Linked DNA regions of Homo sapiens: region 2 is linked to region 1. Evidence: promoter capture Hi-C in human tissues and cell types (Jung and others, 2019). All regions are on one chromosome and are shown on one strand. The core of a region is centred on a gene start or on the middle of the fragment in contact, and the rest is flanking DNA. Distances in the headings are between cores, read along the strand shown.

What was found. The method cuts DNA at HindIII sites, captures the fragments that hold promoters and counts their contacts. A contact is called where the count stands out against the background at its distance.
Region 2: a contact is called between a fragment that was not itself captured here and the fragment with the promoter of ZNF850 in region 1, in 1 of the 25 tissues and cell types used here (pancreas).

What each region holds. Positions count from the first base shown.
Region 1 is chr19:36,770,140-36,776,630 of GRCh38, reverse strand. ZNF850 (zinc finger protein 850) reads left to right here and starts at 3,824. Exons shown (of 5, transcript NM_001193552.2): 1 at 3,824-3,906. It overlaps LOC728485 (a long non-coding RNA gene), which reads right to left and starts at 3,478. Exons shown (of 2, transcript NR_164117.1): 1 at 3,122-3,478; 2 at 1-1,245. RefSeq lists enhancers at 3,564-3,723, 3,864-4,003 and a silencer at 3,990-4,284. The HindIII fragment of the contact is 7,262 bases long and covers 1-5,630 here.
Region 2 is chr19:36,924,930-36,931,420 of GRCh38, reverse strand. It overlaps ZNF568 (zinc finger protein 568), which reads right to left. Exons shown (of 7, transcript NM_198539.4): 4 at 6,163-6,221. Among named protein-coding and RNA genes, the nearest start is that of ZNF568, 12 kb to the right of the region's middle. The HindIII fragment of the contact is 6,601 bases long and covers 1-6,061 here.

The DNA.
Region 1 (6,491 bases), core at 2,575-5,074:
GGATCTCTTGAGCCCAAGAGTTTGAGACCACACTGGGCAACATAGAACACCCCATCTCTACAAAAAATAAAAAATTACCCGGGCGTGGTGGCGCAGGCCTGTAGTCCCAGCTACTCGGGAGGCTGAAGCAGGAGGGTCCCTTGAGCCCAGGAGTTCGAGGCTGCAGTGAGCTATCATCGCGCCACTGTATTCCAGCCTGGGCGATACAGCAAAGCCCTGTCTCCAAAAATAAAACCAAAAACCAAAAAACAAAACCCCAAAAAAACTCACCACCACCAAAAAACAAAATAAGTAACCTGTATTCTTTGAAAATGTCAAGGTCGGGAACAGGTAGGATACACAGAAAACAAATAGGTGGAAGATTTAAATCGAAATATTTTAGTAGTTTCATTAAATGTACAGAGGAGAGTATGTGCCTATCATTGGGAGTCTGAGACAAGATAAAAGCACGGATCTCATAACAATAAATTACTTTGAAATCTTCTTTCTTGCTCAGTACAGGTCCCGCCGCCGCGCCGCCTGGCTCTCGTATTCCTGGTTCTCGGCGGGCTGTGGGGCTTCCGCGCCGCAGCCGTTAGTCTCGTCGGGTAGGTGACTCCTTCAGCGAGCAGGCGCAGCGACGAGAAAGGCCTGGCGGGGTTGCGCTGTCTTCCCGCCCACCGGAAGGCCCTGAGGAGAAGCCTCGGGCCCTGAGGGAGGGCTTGGGGTCGGGGGCGGCCGCTGCCGCCGCCATGTTGGGCTGGAGGTACGCACGCTCCCAACGCTCTCTGGCTGCGCTCCCAACGGTATCTGGCTGCAAATCACGGCGGGAGCGCCTCGGGCCTCTTGTCTTTTGACCCTGTCCTTGGAACCCGAGGAGACTTGCCGTTCCCGGGGGAGGGTGTGTGTGAGTCGGGCGGCGGAGGCCGTCTACGCCATTGTAGGGGCGGGGGGAGCCGAGATTAGAGCATCAGCCTGAGAGAAGTGGTGCTTCTGGTTCTCCGCTCTGCCTCGCATCTTTCAGCGAGGCCTCGTACCTCAGTTTTCCCATCCGTGAAGTGGAGCTGGGCCTGCCTGACTCATTCATTCATCAGGTGGAGGCCTTGACGCTCTAGGAGCCCTTTCAAAGGACTTTGCCTTACACGAAATAGTACCTATCGTTATTCACTCTGCAGTAACCACCCGGATTTGAGTGGCGGGTGTTTGCACAGTAATTCAGTTTCCTCTTCACCCTCCTGCCATTCGTCTTCCCCTCCAGTTTATCTCCTGAAAGAGTTTGAAATCAGCCTTGTCTATTATTGATAAACTCCTGTAGGTGTATTTGGTATTTCCCTTAAAACATGCAGACCAAAGGAAAGGCAATATTTTCCCCCCACGAAGCAGTTAACTTGGTAGAGGCCAGCCGTTGTATGGAAGAGAAAGAGAGTCTCTTCAGGACAGGCAGTTTGGATCCTGCTAAACCAGAATAAAAAATCTAGAACATGGGCCGGGCGAGGTGGCTCACGCCTGTAATCCCAGCACTTTGGGAGGCCAAGGCGGGCGGATCACGAAGTCAGGAGATCGAGACCATCTTGGCTAATACGGTGAAACCCCGTCTCTACGAAAAATACAAAAAATTAGCCGGGCGTGGTGGCGGGCGCCTGTAGTCCCAGCTACTCAGGAGGCTGAGGCAGGAGAATGGCTTGAACCCGGGAGGCGGAGTTTGCAGTGAGCCGAGATCACGCCACTGCACTCCAGCCTGGGCGACAGAGCAAGACTCCGTCTCAAAAAAAAATAAATAAATAAAAATCTAGAACATGGATGTCCCCTTGCTTTAGCAGACCTAGCTGATCACACAAGGTCCTGTATTGTTAGGCTGCATCACAGGCCGCAAAGACCCAGGTATCTATCCAGTTGTTAGAAACCATCCTGAGAGTTAGATACCACTTTTCTGTTGGAAATACAGACCATTTCCTGAAGCCGTATGGTTGAGGTAAAACAGGCCTTTTGCAGTCTTATATTTTGAGTAAGGCCAAAACTGCCTAGTGTTACAAAACCAGACAAAAAGCCCAGGTACCCAGTCTTGCAGGATAGAAATGTGTGACTAAAATGAAGCATCGATCTGAGAAGACTACAAATGAGCGGGAAAGATTGGACAGGAGCATGCTATACATTATTTAGATTAATGTTGATATTTAAGGAGCCAGGATATTGGTTTGTTTTTGAGGGGTGCCCATCTACTTTATGTAAGAAGCTATAAACTACACTTCTTTCAGTTTCTGCTTAATCCTTGCTCAAACAAGGAATAATTTCTTATTCCAAAGTAGACATTGGTACATCTTTTACTAGGTACATAATTTGGGATGAAGTCTGATAAAGCTCCTTAGAAGTACTTACAGTACACCCTCACAAGGGTGTACCATCTACCCATGGTTTAAACAGAAATTAAAATTCTACCTTCGTGGAAAAATTTGCCAAGTTTTAATGGATTCAGTGCTCATTAAAAACTTTTAGCCTGTCTTGATCTTTAACATAATTATTGGTGTGAAACAATGGCTTCTGTGGAAAATTAAAGTTTTAGTGGTTTGCTATTTGTGAAATACAGGCTTTTTCATGTATCATATTAGCATATAAGCTGGCTTAATCATTAGTACTGATCTTCAAGTTACTAAGACACCAGATATTTGTTACTTTGTAATTTGAGTTTTTAAAAAAATTCCGAAATTGGCTTTTCGATGTGTGAAAAGGACTACTTATTAGATGCTTGTTTTTAAATTTACATTCAATTAATTAAAGCTAGACTCTTTATATTCTTAGGCTTGGTATACTATTTGTATGTTTTGTAGTAAGTGTATAAAAATAATACCTTTGACTTTGTATAAAAAAAATCTTTCTTGCTTTAAAAGCCATGTTGGATTTGCATTCTAGACCGTAATAAATATAACTACTTTAACATAAAAATCTATTTATGTTGTTTATCAGATATTAGGGGTTTTTTTCCCTCTCCTGTCAACCTCCAAATAAAATCGATGCTCCAGAATGATGCCCTCTTATCATAATTTTACAAATACCTGGCTCCAAGGTTACTACCTGATACAAAAATACAATGCTGGTCTCCCAAACAGGCAACTCACATTGACACTCACACAGCTTCCACTCACACCTGCGATCACAAGGCAGCATCTTCGGGCCCTCGTCGGCCACGATCCGCTCCCAGAGAGCATTCGCGCACAATCTTATCCCATCCACGATTTTGATTCCTTTTCTCCCACTTCTTCAACCCTATCCGGGACGAGACCATCAGGTCCCACCTCCACCTTCACCTTCATTTTCCGCGCAATGCAGACTGAGCCCTGGACTCACCCATATACAGATTGAATTGTCCGGTCAGTGTTTCATCCCCTCTGCATTCTGAGGGCGAGTTAGCATCTGGGTGCATGAGTTCCAAACTAACAGCCAGGACCAGGCTTGGAGCCAAGAATCCTTTGGCTCGCATCGTGGCTGGGTTGACCGCTTTTCTGCCCTGGACTACATTTCCCATCGGTTCTACCGTTCGGGGCTACTTCCGCCGAGAACCGGAAGCACGTTTTCCTGTGTCTTACCCCAGATAACAGAGCTGCCAGGGATAATCAGGCCTGACCACTCTAGCGGGCGAGCCGGCCCCATAGCGAGCCGCTCGGCATGAGGGCTCTGCGATCCTCGTTGGAGAGGAGCGGTAAAAGGAAACAAGCCAGGCTTGGAAATGAGAGGCATAGGGAAGCCCGCAGTCGGGCTCTGGACTACATTTCCCAGAGGATCCCGCAGGCCGACGCCACGTCTCGCGAGATTTTGGCTTCCTCTTAGCCAGGTGGCGGGACCGTTTGCTGTGCCGATTTAGCTGCCGCCGCGCCTTGGAGTCCTGAGGAACTTGGCTAGGCTGGCCCCGAGCGGAACCAGAGAATGCTGAGGGTGAGGAATCCGGCTCCGGTCCTTTTGTGTGTGGAGGGCTGAGGAGAGGAGTTTGCGTGTGTGATCGCGATGGCTGCCGTGGGTCTCCGTGGTCTGTGACTGTGGCTGTGTGGTGCTGACTCTGGGTGATCAGGTGGGCGCTTGTGACTGTGCGCGCCCGGAGTGGGTGTGTGTGTCCTGGACGACCCTCGTTGTGCGTGCGGATGTGAAGAACCGGTGACTGTGTGGTTGGACTGCGTGTCCCGGGGTGGGTGTGTGACTTTGCGTGTCTGTGCAGTACCTTGTGTGCGTGAGTTGCAGGTCTGTGGCTGTGCAAGTGCAACTTGTGTGGCCCCTTGGTGTATGTGAGAGAGGAGAGTGTGATTGGCTGTGAGGCAGTGGGTAAGTGGATATGCGGAGGCATGTGTGCGATTGGGACTTTGTGTGTCCCCTTGAGAGAAAAAACTCTTTAGGCAGTTAGGGTGGGACCTTGGTAAAAGTCCTTTAAACAGAGAAACAGCCTGAAAAATCAGGCTGCAGGCATACATAAGGAAAACTCCACAGGGGGGTTGTCCTGAAGACATTCCTCAGCTGCACTGATAAGGGACCGAGGCCCAACATAGAAACGCCTTTGTCCTTTGTGTGACCAGCGGGCTTCCACGAAATAGTCGCTTCTTTTGTGGGCATGTACACGGTGGGCTCTGTTAGATTTTGAAGGGAAGGCGAGGGTTAAAGAAAGAGAGAGAGTTGGCGGCTCTATGGCGGGGACCAACTAAATGCCAGAGCCCACTGCCGCTTCCAGGCTGGGGTAATTACAGGCCTGGGCAGGAGGGGTCTGGGCGGTATGGCTTGTTGCCTGGGAGAAAGTTGATAAGGATGTTTCTTGGGCTTTTGCCCAGCAGGATGTGATAAGGAAGTCAGGCGGTTGGGAAGGATGTTTCGCACAGCCCAAACCCGGGTGGAATGTTTCCCTCTGACCAGGGTCTGTGAAATGGTGGGGGCTTACGAAACGGTGCAGCTTGGACTAACAGGTTCCGGCGGCCACTTTCCTTTTTTGGACATGCTTTAGACTGTGAGCGCGGCCTCTTTGAATCATAACTTCACCCCCTCATTGGTCCCGGGCCAAGCTTTCACTTCAGCCCCTGATTGGTCCCGGGCCAAACTTTCACTTCAGCTCCTGATTGGTCCCGGCCCAAACTTTCACTTCAGCTCCTGATTGGTCCCGGGCCAAACTTTCACTTCAGCCCCTAATTGGTCCCGGGCCAAACTTTCACTTCAGCTCCTGATTGGTCCCGGGCCAAACTTTCACTTCAGCCCCTGATTGGTCCCGGGCCAAACTTTCACTTCAGCCCCTGATTGGTCCTGGGCCAAACTTTCACTTCAGCCTGGGATTGGTCCCGGGCTAAGGTCCCAGGGCCAAGCTGGGTAGTGCTTTCTTCAAGACAGCCCACGTTCCTCCCCTTCCCAGTTAATAAACCCCCCCAGATTCAGCCTCCTAGTTGGCAACCCTCTTTTGGGTCCCTCCGCTGGGGAGAGCTTTCTTCTTTTGCTTATTAAACTTCCGCTCCGACCTCATCCTTTGTGTCCCTGTTCCTTAATTTTCTTGGCCGTGAGAGAAAGAAGGCAAAAACAAGAGCCTTTACCCTAACAACTCAATTGCTGCAGAGATTAGTGCATATTCTATGTGGCATCACACGCCATAGCCCTGGGATTGAAAGCCATGCAGTTTATGGGATGGTGTTAATCTCAGTCCAAATAAGTGATAAGATCTTTCACTTTGCTATATTTTAGGGGTAGGAATGAGATTGGGGGCTCGATCAATAGTTTGTACCAATAACACCAGGGATTTGCCCAGTCATCTGTGAGTAAATGCTTGGGCCAGTTTCCATGTCTGTATTGAATTAAATACTCATACGGTTCTGTGATTTTCTCAAATACAGATTTGGTCTTTGTCCCTATTTCCTCGCATACAACTCCTAAAGTCCTTGGAATCTCTTAAGTGCTGGCTTTTTTTTTTTTTTTTTTTTTTTTTTTTTTTTTTTGATGGAGTCTCTCTCTGTCGCCCAGACTGAAGTGCAGTGGCGCAATCTCCAGTCACTGCAACCTCTGCCTCCCGGGTTCAAGCAGTTCTTCTGCCGCAGCCTCCCGAGTAGCTGGAACTACAGGCACGCGCCACCACGCCCGGCTAATTTTTGTATTTGTTTTTTTTAGTAGAGACGGGGTTTCACCATACTGGCCAGTCTGGTCGCGAACTCCTGACCTCAGGTGATCTGCCTGCCTCGGCCTCCCAAAGTGTTGGGATTACCGGCGTGAGCCACTGCACCCAGCCTTTGGCTTTTTGTATGTTAGTGATTGACCGAAAGCTTCAGGATGGGGGCTGGTCATCAGAAAGACCAAGGCAGGATTAGAGGGTTGAGACTTTGAGCCCCTACCCTCCCACCCCTGGGGAGTGGAGGGGACTGAGGATTAAGTTGATGGCAAGTAGCCAGTGGTTTAATCAATCATGCCTATGTAATGAAGCCTCCTTACAAACCCAAAAGGGGTGGATTCAGAGAGCTTCCAGAGAGCTGAACACATGGTGGTTCCTGGAGGGTCGTGCCTAGGGA
Region 2 (6,491 bases), core at 1,512-4,011, 160 kb before region 1:
AGCAAGTCCTGGTCTCAAAAACAAACTCAACAAAAAATAATTCCATTAGAAAATATTACTGTGATAAATTGATTATTCAGCGAGTCTTCACTTCCTGCCTGTACTAATGTCCCATCTACTAATGTGGGCCTTGTCTGAGCCCTTTGTTGGGGCAAAAGGAATGTCAGTAAACATGATGTGAGCAAAGGCCTGAAATTTGCTTACACCCTTTACCTTGGCTCATGTGCTCCAGTGAGACAGCAAATGAAGACCTTGGCCCAGGAAGCTGTGCCATTTCAGCTGAAACTCAGAATGAATATATGCAGAGCAGACACAAGCCCACTGTGGAGCCTAAGCCAAGGCCAGCTGATCTGCAGCCCAAAGCAGAGATGCCCACATAGTTAACCTGCAGACCCCAAGGATAAGAATGAACGCCTGTTTTCTATTCACAAAAGCAGCAGAAAGGCTGAACAGACATGTGACTGACACATTTCTGACTGAAAAAAAATGCTGAAATACTAAACTTTCAAAACGGAGCTGGGTTTAGATATTTTTTACCAGTTAATAGGCTGTGGTATCCAATGTCATGGGTTCAAACTCTGGCTTCAAAATTTACTAATTGTGTTACCTTGACAAATAGCCAAACTTGAGTCTCAGTTTCCTCATCTATAAAGTGGAATTCTCCTTAAAGGGTTGATGTGAAGACTAAATAACACAGTAAATGTGACTCAGAACAGAGCTTGACACAATAATCAACTGATGAATGTTTCAGAAATAGATAATCCCTCTGGAATATACACCACAACAAAGATAGGGGAAAACTACAAAAAGAGAAAACATTTTTTAAATTAGTGCTAACAAATCAGCACAAAAACATTTTCCCACCAACTCTAGTAACTTAGCATAAATCTCATATAAAAAGATTGCACCCCTGGCCAGGCGCGGTGGCTCATGCTTGTAATCCCAGCACTTTGGGAGGCCGAGGCGGGCGGATCACGAGGTCAGGAGATCGAGACCATCCTGGCTAACATGGTGAAACCCCATCTCTACTAAAGATACAAAAAATTAGCCGGGTGTGGTGGCGAGCGTCTGTAGTCCCAGCGACTCGGGAGGCTGAGGCAGGAGAATGGCGTGAACCTGGGAGGCGGAGCTTGCAGTCAGCCAAGATTGTGCCATTGCACTCCAGCCTGGGCGACAGAGCGAGACTCTGTCTCAAAAAAAAAAAAAAGAAATTGCATCCCTGACAAAAGCCATAAGTAACAAAATACCAAGAAGTAAAATATGCTTTAATTTTTGACTGTATAAAATGATGAGTCAGTCTTTACAATAGGGTCTATTTTCCCAAGATGTTGATTCTCTTCACATACAAATGTTAAGAAATTCAGTATTAATAGCAAGAAACATAGGGGTTCGAACCTTAAAAAACATAAATTCACAGTTCATGTCATTAAGTTTTATTCCTTCTCCTGTCAAACAGAACCAAAAAAAAAAAAAAACATGAACACGCTTCTGCCCCTGGCAAGAGGCAATAATATTTCCAATGTTCTTGCTGGTACCACAGCACCTTCCTCTCCTTCACTTTTTTTTTTCTTTGAAACTGGGTCTCGCTCTGTCACCTAAGCTGGAGCAGTGCCACAATCATAGCTCACTGAAGACTCACTGCTGAGCTCAAGCAATCCTCCTGCCTCAGCCTCCTGAGTAGCTGGGACTACACATGTGAGCCACCAAACCTAGCTAATTTTTTTTTTTTTTTTTTTGAGACGGAGTCTTGCTCTGTCGCCCAGGCTGGAGTGCAATGGTGCGATCTCGGCTCACTGCAACCTCTGCCTCCTGGGTACAAGTGATTCTCCTGCCTCAGCCTCCCAAGTAGCTGGGACTACAGGTGTGTACGACCACACCCGGCTAATTTTTTGTATTTTTAGTAGAAACGGGGTTTCACCATGTCAGCCAGAATGCTCTCGATCTTCTGACCTCATGATTCACCCGCCTCAGCCTCCCAAAGTGCTGGGATTACAGGCGTGAGCCACCACGCCTGGCCACACCCAGCTAATTTTTTAAAATTTTTTGTAAAGACTGGGTCTTGCTGTATTGATCCAGCTGGTCTCAAACTCCTGGCCTCAAGTGATCCTCCAGCTGTGGCCTCCTAAAATGCTGGGATTACAGGTGTGAGCCACCATGCCTCGCTTTCTTCACTTTTAAGATACATAATAGAATATAATTGTTTAAAATAACAAAGTTTACAGTGAGGGAATAAAGATAACTACAAGTCAGTTCTGGGTGTATATGTTGACTGGCAACTTTTTATAAAATTTTTTTTTCCCTAAAGTTATGTAAGCATTAAACAAATATTCTTCTTTTAAAAACTTAGAGCATGGCACATGACATTCTTTTATACTTTTCCTGGCCATTCTGCATGTTTTTATTTTTCAAATGTATTCTAGACTCGGCTCAAATAAACTTGTCTAATTCTAAGAAAAATAATTTAGAATTGTTATTGAGATTCTGATCAATCTATGTAGGTTAAAGACAATTTATATTAATTTAATAATGATGGCTCTTATCCAAAAAAGGGTATTTAAAAAATTTGTTCAAATCCTCTATCTCAGTAATAATTTGAAGGTTTCATTCTCCCATGTACACCACATACATTTTATTTTTTTCTTTCGGGTTTTTTTCTAGTCTGAGCATCATTCTTCCATTTCATTTTTGATGGTGTGGTTTATAGAGAAAAATGGTATTGATTTTTGTATATTAATTTTGTGTCCATATTTCAATCATTCTTGTGTTTCTCTTCTGTTGCCTAAAAACATAATTGTATCACTTAGATATCATAATTTTGAATGCACCATCCTGCTTTTTACTTCATTTCCCTCCCCTTACTTATGTCTAGGCATACAAAATCGTAGTAGTAGCACTGGCAAGCTGGTTGTGTTCCTGACTAGTAGGAAAGTGCCTAATTTTTACAAGTAAACATGGTACTAGCTTGTAGCTTATTATCTGCACATATATATGTGTTGTATGCGTGTGAATAATTTCTTAAAATATCATAAGAAAATGTTCTTTTACTTTTACTTTATAAATAGGTCCTTTTGAAATCACAGGTTCTGAGTTAAAAAAATTTTCAGCTCTATAGATCTGATTGTTTTTCTCTTGAATATAATAATTTATATTAATAGATTCCCTTAAATGGAAACATCTTTAATTGTGACAGAAAATATCTTTCGGGACAGGTGCAATGGCTCATGCCTGCAATCCTAGTACTTTGGGAGGCTGAGGCAGGTGGATCACTTGAGGTCAGAATCACTTGAGGTCAGCCTGGCCAACATGGCGAAACCCTATCTCTACTAAAAATGCAAAAACTTAGCCAGGCATGGTGGTGTACCCCTGTAATCCCAGCTGCTTGGGAGGCTGAGGCATGAGAATCACTTAAACCCGGGAGGTGGAGGTTGCAGTGAGCCAAGATCGTGTCACTGCACTCAAGCCTGGGCAACAAAGCAAGACTTCATCACCAAAAAAAAAAAAAAAAAAAAAAAAAAAATATATATATATATATAATATATATATATATATATATATATATACACACACACACACACATATATCTTTATATATATATATATTTATATATTTTTTATATATATGTATTTTTTGCTTAATTCTTCTCCAACTAGTTGTGCAATTCAATGGAAATCCCCAATAGGATTTCTTCCTAGAACTAGATAAACTAATTCTAAAATTCAAATGGAAGCCCAGAGGTCCCAAAGTAGCTGAAAAATTTTTGAAAAACTAAGAATAATGTGTGTGCATAAAGAAGTGGTGAAATCATTGCCCATATAAAGTAATTGTAATTAAACCAATGTAAAACACACACACACAAAGTACAGTACTGATATAAATGTAGACAAATAGATTACAGAAAAAGTAAAAGCCTAGAAACCATCATGTATGTATACAGTAAAGGTGGCATCACAAAGGAAAGATCTACTTAATAAACGGTGTTGGAACAACTGGTCTTCTACATGCAAAGATAATTCTACTAATAGAATTATCAGTAAATTCCTATCTCAAACCAATTACAATATTATAATCCAGTTGGATTAAAGACTAAATATGGAAAACAATGCTTTGAACAGAGATTATCTCTATGATCTAATATTAATTAGGAAAGATATCTTAGAAAAGATTAACATTGGCAACTCATGAGAAAAGACTACTAAATATTAATAGTTGCATATTTTGACTGAATTCTATTATGTATACATATTTATCATACACTAAATGTAACTATCCAAACTTCAATGTCTATACAACAAAAAATAAATAACATAAAAATGACAGATTGGGAGAAGGTAGCTGCATAAATCCTAAGTCCTAATACTGAAATAGACATTCTTAAAATATTCTAATTTCGAATACAGAAAAAACTATTATTACAAAATAGACAAACAATATGAATGGGTAATTGGCTTTTGTATTTCTTCACTCATAATGAGCCTCCATCTGTACAGTATCGTAGAGTGTGGGCCCTAGAGTCAGACTGTATGGATTTGAATCCTGGGTTTATGACACATTGATGCACGATGTTATGTAAGCTTAACCTCTGTGCTTCATTTCCCTTATCTTAAAAAATTTAAATAATATGTACTTCATAGACGTCTGATAATAATTACATGAAATAAGCTATGTAAAGCACAATACATCTGGCACATAGTAAGAACTCAATAAAGCTGTAACAGTTGGTTCTCCATATCTGTGGGTTCAATATCCATGGATTCAACCAATGGCAGACCAAAAATATTTGAGAAAAAAATAACAATGCCTATCATTTATGGGGTACTTGTTACATGTATTTAACCCTCCCAACATTCCTGTGGGATAAATACCATTATCATCCCCATTTATAGACTTACAGATGATGTAACTGAGTCACAAAAAGATTAAGAAACTTGTCCACAGTCATGCACTTCATAAGTCACTGAGCCAAGATTTAAACTCAAGCCTGTCGAGGGCCAGAGAGGTTTGCTAGGGCCACCGCGCCAACAGAAGTAACTGGATGAGCCATATGATCATATGGTCAAAAGAAGTATGTGTGTATATTTCATGATGTGAAAGACATAAGCTGAAGAAAAAGAGGCAGTTAAGCAGAAAACATTCAAAATATAGGTGTGTGAGTGACTTCAGAGGTGGAAACAAAAAGAATCAAGAGCAGAGAATACGTAATTTTGTAAGATGAGGATGAAGACTATATCTTCTGAGACCATAAAAAAGATGTGAAAAGCTATGGATATCAGAACTATAAGATTCTGCCATAGAATATTAGTATAATTTAGCTCAACTTGGATTAAAAACTCAATTGAAGAAAATATATACGTAGGATCATTTGAAAGATATGTGTTCCACTTACTCTTCCAGGTAATTTGAATTTTTGAAGTTTGGCCAAGACCAACTTCTAAAAGCTAAGCTAAAAATTGTAAGAATTAAGGAATTACAGTCGTCCCTAGGAAACCATGTAGAATTGGTTCCAGGACCCCCCACGGATACCAAAATCCACTGATGCTCAAGTCCCTTATATAAAATGGTGTAGGATTTGTACGTAACCAATGTACGTCCTCCCGTATACTTTAAATCGTCCCTAGATTACTTATAAAACCTAATATAATGTGATTTCTATGTAAATAGTTGTTACACTATGTTGTTTAGAAAACGACAAGAAAAAAGTCTGTACATGTTCAGTACAGATACAACCACCCATTTTTTTTTCAAGTATTTTTGATTTGCAGTTGGTTCAATCTATGGATGCAGAATCTACAGATACAGAAGTCCAACTATATTTTAGAGTTTCTTTTTGAACAAGGTGCCAGTTAAAAGCCTTTTACTTAAATAATTGTAAGTTTTTCCTCATAAATGGTGCAACTTATGGACTTACGGAATAAACTTAAGTGTCCCAGTTTGCTTTGACTGTCCAGATCATATTTAAATTTGAACTCAACTTTAATAATTCTGTATGTACCTGCTTCTGCATAGCCATATCTCAAATTTCCCCAGGTTCTGATTTTCTATCTGTATTTTTTCTCACTTTTATTTTCATCAATTTATTTTTTCCAACACATTGGTAGGTTACAAGAACCCACCGTAACTGCACTGCAAAATAATGCAGGAAACAAATAAATGCTTAAGACGTACAAGAGGCCTGGTTGTATCCTCTTCTTCCTCGGAAAGGGCAGACTCTTGAGAACACCAAGCTGAGGGAAGAGAAATGAAACAGATTTGCTTCAAAGTTTCAGACAAAGGAATATAGAAATCTTCAGTACCAGGTGGCTAGAAGACCCTCTACAGATGAATGATCCTTGAAGCAATAAGAAATGTTAACTGCCATCTAGCTATAGACACTGAAATGGACACAGATGGCTAATTTAATCATATGGGGTCTGATGGGGATTTATGGAGGGCTAAGTATGCAGTGCCCAATGAATCTATTGGCAATATTTTATCTCCCTAGAATCTTGCTGTTT